Linked DNA regions of Homo sapiens: region 2 is linked to region 1. Evidence: promoter capture Hi-C in human tissues and cell types (Jung and others, 2019). All regions are on one chromosome and are shown on one strand. The core of a region is centred on a gene start or on the middle of the fragment in contact, and the rest is flanking DNA. Distances in the headings are between cores, read along the strand shown.

Evidence for each region. Contacts are between HindIII fragments. The study calls those that stand out against the background at their distance.
Region 2: a contact is called between a fragment that was not itself captured here and the fragment with the promoter of TOB1 in region 1, in 1 of the 25 tissues and cell types used here (lymphoblastoid cells).

The regions. Positions count from the first base shown.
Region 1 is chr17:50,864,938-50,869,701 of GRCh38, reverse strand. TOB1 (transducer of ERBB2, 1) reads left to right here and starts at 3,348. Exons shown (of 2, transcript NM_005749.4): 1 at 3,348-3,644. It overlaps TOB1-AS1 (TOB1 antisense RNA 1), which reads right to left and starts at 3,023. Exons shown (of 2, transcript NR_038458.1): 1 at 2,485-3,023; 2 at 1,331-2,206. RefSeq lists silencers at 3,013-3,522, 3,533-4,142 and an enhancer at 4,683-4,732. The HindIII fragment of the contact is 8,365 bases long and covers 1-3,776 here.
Region 2 is chr17:51,215,892-51,220,553 of GRCh38, reverse strand. It overlaps MBTD1 (mbt domain containing 1), which reads left to right. Exons shown (of 17, transcript NM_017643.3): 4 at 91-224; 5 at 1,510-1,624; 6 at 3,138-3,220. Among named protein-coding and RNA genes, the nearest start is that of MBTD1, 42 kb to the left of the region's middle. The HindIII fragment of the contact is 3,892 bases long and covers 42-3,933 here.

The DNA.
Region 1 (4,764 bases), core at 2,099-4,598:
AACGAAGTTTTGCTCCTGTTGCCTAGGCTGGAGTGCAATGGCGCGATCCCAGCTCACCGCAACCTCCGCCTCCCGGGTTCAAGTGATTCTCCTGCCTCAGCCTCCCGAGTAGCTGGGATTACAGGCATGCGCCACCATGCCAGGCTAATTTTGTATTTTTAGTAGAGACAGGGTTTCTCCATGTTGGTCAAGCTGATCTCGAGCTCCCGACCTCAGATGATCCACCCACCTTGGCCTCCCAAAGTACTGGGATTACAGGCGAGAGCCACCGCGCCCTGACTTGCAATCTGTATTTGAAGAACAGCTGCAGTATATATGTTAGGAACATTGAGTTTTAAGGGCGGAATATTTTATTTATTTATTTTTTTGAGAGAGAGTCTCGCTCTGTCGGCCAGCAGGAGTGCAGTGGCACGATCGCGGCGCACTGCAACCTCCATCTCCCAGGCTCAAGCAATTCTCCTGCCTCAGCCTCCCAAGTAGCTGGGATTACAGGCGTGTGCCACTACACCCGGCTAATTTTTGTATTTTCAGTAGAGACGGGGTTTCACCGTGTTGGCCAGGCTGGTCTCAAATTCCTGAGCTCAGGTAATCTGCCTGCCTCAGCCTCCCAAAGTGCTGGGATTACAGGCGTAAGCCACTGCTCCCAGCCAAGTGTGGAATTTTTTTTTAATTGAAGGAGACATTAGATATGATCTAATTCAACCCTTTTTATAGGTGAGAAAACTAAAAGTTTATTGAAACTGGTGTGAAACTCAGACCTCCCAGTACCCACCCTTCATTGCTTTTTCCAGTATGCCATGGGGCCTCCGTGTGTGTTGTTTGTGTGGTGTGTGTGTGTGTGTTTATATTTGGTCAGACATCTTCTTACACTCCTAGGCCAAGCAGCAATAACTCATAAATTTTTGACATCTACATTTCTGACTTAAAAATGCTTTTAATGCTACTGATATTTAATCAGTACCTATCAGATGACTGCTCTCATATTTCAAATCTGGAATTACAGATTGAAGACATTCAGAAAAGAGAACTTGTCCCTTCTCTTTAGAGAATTATTGAAAAGTACAGATAAGTTTGACAAAATTACAATTCATCTATCTTTAGACATTTTAGTCTCAGCCATGCCTAATATGCCCCCCCAATATAAAATTACTAATCAAGACACATGGTCCCGCAGTTCTAGATGTTTGGTACAGTACCATTATTTGCCTAATGGTAAAAGAAGTTGTGCTTCTAGAACACGTGAAAAATGAAGTGTTTCTTTTGGTAAGGCATTCCAAGGATATCCTGTCTAGTTTCTTGAAATTTCTGTGCTTAATTAGAAAACTAAAAATAACTCACTTTTATTACAGATGGACTTGTCATTACAGAAAACCAAAAACAAACAAATAAAAAAAGAAAACTGAACAAATCATTTATATTTGACGCTTTGATGACATTTCAATGCAGAGGAAGGGACATTTTAATTTAAATGCTTTCACAGTTTTGCCATACTTTCACATTTCAATTCCACTCCTGTTTGCAACTAAAAAACCCAAACACTCAAAAAAAAAAAAAAATCACATTAATCAGAATTTAAGGAGTCACTTAGTAAAACTATGTTTTAGGAATCTGTACAATAAACATGAAATCAGTCACCTGACCACTCCCCACCCTCAGCCCATTCCACAAACCCATCTTCCCACCCCTTCTCCTACGCATTGAGCCTTCAGAAATACCCTTTCTCAGTGCGGTTCCTTCTAAAAAGGAGAGGCGGGAGAGTCAGGGTGGAGAAGGCGGCTCCAACCAGATTTTGCGTCCACAAAGCCAAAAGCTTCTAGGCCTGGCATGTACGGCGGGTTTGTGCCCGAGGAGCACAGCTGGTCTACACGGGCCCGCCCCGTAGACACCCTACTCCTCGGTGAGCTGCGGTTTAACTTCCTTATAGCAGGTTGAGAGTGCAGGCCCCAACGTTTGGAGGGGAAGGCGGCGCCCCAACTGGTGTTTTTCCAGGAAGTGCTCCAAGAATGGAGAGGAGAGGGGAAAGGGGAAAGGGGAAGGCCAGGCGATGGGCGTTTCATTCATTGCTTCTTTCTCCCCGTCCCCTCCTTCGCTCCCCCCAGACTTTCCCCTTTTCCCAGTCCGAGTTTGACGTCGGTCTCCTGGATACCAGGCAGCCAATCGCCTCGTTGCGAAGGGACCAGCGCAGCCAATCAGGCGTCGTTGCTACCTGTGAGTAATATTTTTAGCTGAGAGGGACGCTCGATTCCACTCCCGATGTAATTTCGTGTATTTCTCTGGGGCAGGTTGTGAAAAAGGCACTTACCCGCCCCCCACCACGAGTCCCTCTCTTACCCCACTCCCTAGGTACCCGCACATATTTCAGCCAAGAATGATCTTAAACGCGCTTTACAAGCAGGCACCGCGTTTATTCTGTGCACCTGCGATCCAGCAAGCCCTAGAAATGCACGCATGCGTGTGTGTGTAGACATGGACACAGATACATACGCAGTTTGGCCTCGTGTCGCCACACTCTGGGCACGGCGTGGGCTGGGACATTTGGAATAAACGGATCCGAGTCGCAGCCGGGGTCGCACCGGGAGGCCTGAGGCTGCGGAAGCAGTTAAACTGCCGGCGGGGCGGGAGCTGTGGCGGCCTCCCTTCCCCACCCCCAGCCCGGCTCCACGTCTTTGGGTTCTGCAGCTGCCACTCTCTGGGTGGCGGTTGGCCTAGGCCTTGGGGTGATTAATATTCAATTAATCGGGTGCACAAGTCCCGGTCACAGTTTGCCCTTTCTCTACCCCGCCCCTGGGGTGGGCTGGAGGCCGATTTGGTAGCTATTCCACGAGCAGGATCCTCCTTGGCCGCAGACCCCCGCGGAGAGGGCACTTTCTGGGTACTCTTGCCGCTCCTCCAGCCCCGGTTCTCCTGAGCCGCTTCGCCACCAGCTTCGTCCCCCTCCCCCTCTGCCCGGCGCTCTCCGCCTAAACCGGGCGTCAGCCGCCCTACCCCACCCCTTTCTCTCTCATTGGCACGTCTGCCCCCACAGTCCCTTTCCAGACGTTCTCTTCATTCCGTCCCCAGTGCTCCGATCGTCGGTTCATTGGCCCTCCTGGAGCCCGGAGGGTGCGGCTTCCCCACCCCTGCGTCCGCCGCGCGTCCGGACAGGGGCAGGCGGGACTTGGCCAATGGCGTCGGGGGGCAGGGCAGGGGCGGAGCCGGCCGGCGGGGGACCGGGGTGCCGGGCGGGGAGCGCGGGGAATGGCTGCGCCGCCGGAGCTGTGTGACGCGGAGCGGGCGCGCGCACCCCGACGGAGGGGATGGGGGCGGGGAGGAGGCCATAAAACGAGAGGCGGGGCGCGCGCCGCGGCAGAAGGAGCGAAGCTCTGGCCCGGCGTGTAGCGGGCGCACTACGGGGACGCTGGGCCGGGCACCGGGCTGTGTGGAGAAGTGAGCGCGCTCGTCTGACCCCCGTGCCCGCCACCCCGAGCCACTAACGGCGATCTCCCAAGGCCTGCCCGAGGCCTCTGTCCTCTGTCCTCAGCCCCGCAGCGGCAACGTCTTGCACTCGGCGAGCTCGCCGCTCCCGACCCTCCCGCGCCCCCGCCCTGCCGCGCTGCTCCCCGCCCAGCCGCGGGTCTGTGGTCCAAGCCGCCCCGAAGCAGCCCGTAAGTATCTCGGGGCGCCGGGCGGGGTCGGCGAGGAGACGGGAGCCCCGGGCCCAGGCGGCGGAGGAGGGGCTGCAGCGGCGTCGAGCCCTGGGCCCTCGGGAGCTCGGGGACGGCGGGGTCGCGGCCCTGGGCGCCGAGGGGGCAGCGCCAGGACCCGAGGGGAGCGGCTCCGAGGGGCCGCCGGCGCGTCGGGCTCGTCCTGGGCAGTTGGCCGGGGACGGGCGGCCCGGGGCGAGCTGACGGGAATTGGGGGGTTGGGGTGCCCGGAGGAGCGACGAGCTCGCGGTGGAACGCTGGGGTTCGAGGGGCCGGTGGCCGCGAGGCTGAAAATGGTGCCGAGGAACCGGTGCTCCCCCAGGCTCTGGCCGGCTCCCAGGAGCCCGGGGCGGGGGCCACGGGGCGGGGAGCAGCGGGTCGGGTTACGGCGGGGGAGGGGAGCGGCTGACCCGGCGCCCCGACCTGCTCGGTGCTGGGTGCCCAGCCGGGAGAGGTTGCTCTTCCATTTCCCGGGCCTTCCTCCTCCTTCTCCGAGGAGGCTCGTACTCTCTTCCTCCTCCACCTCCACCTCCTCTTGCTGTTGCTGCTGCTGTAGCGCTTGGGCTCCGAGGGCTGTGAGCAGAAATCTAATGAGATCTAACTGGCTGTTTATGTAATTCTTCACACTCCTGCCTGTCTTAAGGCGTTGCTTTGTAACTACCTTCCACCGAGCCTGAATTTCGCTCGGCTGCACCTTCAAGCAATTGGGCTTAATCAGCTGCCTCTGCCGGCACTCAGGCTTTTGACTTGGAAAGTGTTTGTAGTTTGGGGGCAGCCAGAGATTCTTTTTCCCTTTGTCACCACGAATATGGAAAATAGAACAGACGAATTAAGACCAACTTGATTTTTAAACGTACTTTTAAATCAACTTCAGTGTGCAAATAGATCCCTTTCGCAAATATCTTCTGTTTGCCCTTGATCTTTTCTTATCCCCACCCAGTGCTGATCCAGCAAACGTTTAAAGGTCGACCTTACCATACTTGCCTCTCCGGCTGTTACCGTGAGAGGGAGGGAGGGAGAGAGGGACAGACGGAGGTTTTTTAAAATCAGACTAAAACTCAGAAACCCTGGCCTTAAACAG
Region 2 (4,662 bases), core at 738-3,237, 350 kb before region 1:
TCAGATGGCAGGAGAAATTATTTAAACTGTTAGATGAAGATTGATTTTATTATATCATCATAACACCAGTGTTTTTATTTTGTTAATTAGCTACCTGTGAGATGTGTGGGATGGTTGGCGTCCGAGATGCTTTTTACTCTAAAACAAAGCGTTTCTGTAGCGTTTCATGTTCAAGAAGTTACTCGTCAAACTCCAAGAAGGCAAGCATTTTGGCCAGACTTCAGGTAACGGTACAGAAACTTTCTTACTTATATCCATTATTTCTATGGCTTTTGCCATTTATCTGTCATTTGACTGTGATTCACTGTACTCCACCTCTGCCCACTCAGTTATGGTTTTATACCACATCTTGAGGAAACATGTGAGCCCCAAAGTTTGTTCAGCCTATAAAATTGAAAAACTATTTTAAATGGATAAGGCATACTATCCAAATAAACTATTATTTGCAGAAGTTAATTAAAATATCCTTTTTCCAAATAAGTATAAACACTTTTTTATATACAGAAATTGAAGACATTTTCCTGTTTCCCCTTGTTTCCTTTTGTGTTAACATCAAGGTAGAATCTTTCAACATTTGGGGGGAAATAATTTAATCTCTGGTTTTATTTTCTCATCGTCCTCGCTTTGTACTTTTTAGTACAATCCATTTGATACATTGACCAAATGTATTTGGTTAATCCAACTAACCTTTTTGACAACGCTCATGGTATGGAAAGAAAATCGTCTTGCTTTAAATGTACATCAGTGCCTACAAAATGACTGGAGACTTGACCATTTGACTAAGTTCTTACTATTGTATTGTAAACTACTTTTTAAAGGCATTAACTTAACTGATTTTTGCAGTATTTTTATTGGATGATCACAGTCTTCTCATTTAATTTATTATTGTGATCATTACATAGCACTGAAAGGGTTATTTAAATCCTCCAAATTAAGGAAATACATCACTTAGATGTATTTCTATATTTCAGATAGACAGTACCTAAAGATCCTGAGCAGTGGTCTGTACCCAAATGGATGGCAGTTTGTCACACTGTGAATTTGGCCCATGATCATTTTGTCATTGATCTTTTGCGTTAGCACTAAAGGTATAAACCTCAGTCACTTGCTCTTTGAACATTAAATTATCTTCTCTTACCATATAAATAGCAATGCTTGGCAACCTGCATGAGTAAATAACCACTGGTTCTATCTACTGTAAGAAGGAATCAAGTATCCACCACAGCCTATATTTTAACATCTTGTGGGATATAATTTTTTATTAACATATTAATTTGCATATTGCTGTTGTAGTCTATGCCAGCTCTGCTACCCATATTAGATAACTACATTGTAGCAGAACTCCAGAAAAAAATTCTCATGTTAAAATTCTTGTATGTTTCCTCTGCTTTAATAATTTTCTAAACCCTCAATGTTTACTTAAGCAGAATGTGTAGTATGCAGTCCAGTTAAATTGTGGTGGTGAGGGGATGAAAAAGAATCCTATTTACTTAACTTTTCTTGTTTTAGGGTAAGCCTCCAACAAAGAAAGCAAAAGTTCTTCAGAAACAACCTTTAGTTGCTAAGCTAGCCGCATATGCTCAGTATCAAGCTACCTTGCAAAATCAAGCAAAGACAAAAGCAGGTAATATTGGTGAATCTGACAGAGGTGAAATATATGACATTGATTCATTTAGTTTTAATTAATGACATTGTAATTTTGAATTCTGTTTAACTAGCTGTTTCTATGTCCTGTCAGCACATTACAGCTCTAAGCTTCCTAATAGTTGTTTTGATTTCAATAAATTACTCTAGAAGAGTATAGTTGCATGCATAAGTTCAAGTGCTTTTGGCAGTCTCCTTAATGTTTTTATTTGGTTTATTATTTACTTTTCATGTACAGATTCTTTGAATTGTGAAGATATTAGGCAAAGAAATGGGATGTTCAGCAGGCTTCAAAGGGATTGAGGGAAGAAGAGTAGTAAGAGGAGATTAAGGAAAGGACCATTTCCAATAGATTTTTTTTTTTTTTTTTTTTTTTTTTTGGAGACAGAGTCTTGCTCTGTCACTCAGGCTAGAGTTCAGTGGCGTGATCTCGGCTCACTGTAACCTCTGCCTCATGGGTTCGAACAATTCTCATGTCTCAGCCTCCCAAGTAGCTGAGACTACAGGCGCACGCCACCACACTTGGCTTATTTTTGTATTTTTAGTAGAGATAGGGTTTCACCATGTTGGCCAGGCTGGTCTAGAACTCCAGACCTCAAATGATCCACCCACCTCAGCCTCCCAAAGTGCTGGGAATACAGGTGTGAGCCACAGCGCCCAGCCAGAAGATTTTTAATAGAAGTAAATAGAAAGTGAAGCAATAAGTGAGTAAATAATGAGGAGAGCAATAAGAGAGTAAATAGTGAGAAGGGCAATAAGTGAGTAAATAGAAGAGGCAATAAGTGAGTAAATAGAAGTAAATAGAAAGTGAGGTAATTAAAAGTGATATGGGGTAGGTATCTCACTGAGGTACATGGCAAGAACTGAATGGAAATAAAAGCACAAAAGCAGCCACAACAGTGTTTGTCATTCTGTACACTTCTCTCAACTTCTCTTTGTTCCCCTTAACCAAAGAGCTTGTACCTCACTTCCTCAGGAGCATGTGTCATGTATAGAACAGTTAAGAAACTCCTGGCCAGGCGTGGTGGCTCACACCTGTAATCCCAGGGCCAAGACAGGTGGATCACGAGGTCAGGAGTTGAAGACCAGCCTGGCCAATATGGTGAAACCCCGTCTCTACTAAAAATACAAAAATTAGCTGGGTGTGGTGGCATGCACCTGTAGTCCCAGATGCTCGGGAGGCTGAGGCAGGAGAATCACTTGAACCTGGGAAGCAGAAGTTCCAGTGAGCCAAGATCATGCCACTGCACTCCAGCCTAGGTGTCAGAGGGAGACTCAGTCTCAAAAACATAAAGAAACTCCTGTTTGTTTGCAAATATGATATAAGCCAAAGCTCATGCTATTTAGAGAAGTTATTTGATCTTTACATAAAGAAAACGTTCTTTAAATGGGATAAATTAATTTTATGTCCTTTCACACATTTTAACAATGATAACCTTCTTATAAATAAAAGATTTGAGAATTATAATACATCTAAATTTGTTTCATTTTAGCAGTCTCCATGGAAGGTTTCAGCTGGGGTAACTACATCAATAGCAATAGCTTTATAGCAGCTCCGGTTACCTGTTTTAAACATGTAAGTACAGAATTTCTCACCTTATTTTGAAGTACTTAGTCATTGTTTAAATCTGAAGGTACAATAACACCTAAGCATCTTATCCTTAGAAGGTGTTTGTTTTTATGTCTTGTAACTGAAATGCTTCTTTTATTATTATACTTAATAATAGTTAACAAGAACTTCTGTAAGTTTTGTAAGTACAAGTTTCCTATAGAGAAATTGCAGTTTGAAGTTATTTTAAACAGGGAGAAGTACTAGTCTTCTCTTATAAATACTAATTTTCTTTTATATTTATTTATTTTTTAAATTTTTTTGTAAAGACATGGTCTCGCTGTGTTGCCCAGGCTGGTGTCAAACTCCTGGCATCAAGCAGTCCTCCCACCTTTGCCTCCCAAAATGCTGGGATTACAGGTATGAGCCACCATACCCAGCCTCATCAGATGTTCATATTAAGTTGAACTGCTAGCTTTGTCCGGGCACAGTGGCTCAACTGTATTCCTAGCAACTTGGGAGAATGAGGCAGGAGGATCACTTGAGGTCAGGAGTTCAAGACCATCCTGGGCTACAGAGTGAGACTTCTTTTCTACAAAAAATGAAAGTAAATGAAATTGCTAGTATTGTATATCAAAAATATGCATATTGACAATGTCATACGATTTGACCTAACAAACCATTCATTGTGTATGTTACTTAAATCTGCAATTTGAACTGATAATTCAGAAGAGGAAGGATCTTTTTTCTAATTTTTTTGTCTCCAAATGTTAAGTCACAAAAACAAGGAACTATTAGTAACATAGTATTGTGAGCTAAAATATGTGCTATATATATATATCATGAGAAACCCTTTAAAAGGTTTTCTTTTCAGCAAGTGGATTGTTACAGAGCATTTAAAATAATTTAGAATTATGTTTAAAATTTATCTGATGACAAGTTCTTTCCTTTTGATTATTTTATTCCTTTAGATTTGATTAATTCTGTCCAATACTTGTTTAACCTGACTACAACTTTAATTAATACTTAAAGATCTTTTCTGCTGCTATACATGTTTAAGAAGAAAAGAGAATTTAGAAAATACATGAACTTTTGTTTGCATTTAACATTTTGTTAACTTAGGGCTCTAGGCCGGGCACGGTGGCTCACGCCTGTAATCCCAGCACTTTGGGAGGCCGAAGCAGGCATATCACCTGAGGTCGGGAGTTCAAGACCAGCCTGGCCAACATGGTGAAACCCCGTTTCTACTAAAAATACAAAAATTAGCCAGGGGTGATGGTGGGCACCTGTAGTCCCAGCTACTCGAGAGGCTGAGGCATGAGAATCACTTGAACCCAGGAGGCAGAGGTTGCAGTGAGCTGAGATTACGCCACTGCACTCCAGCCTGGGCAATAGAGCGACACTCAGTCTCAAAAAAAAAAAAAAAAAAAAAATTAGGGCTTTATTTTTAGATAACAGCATATGAACAA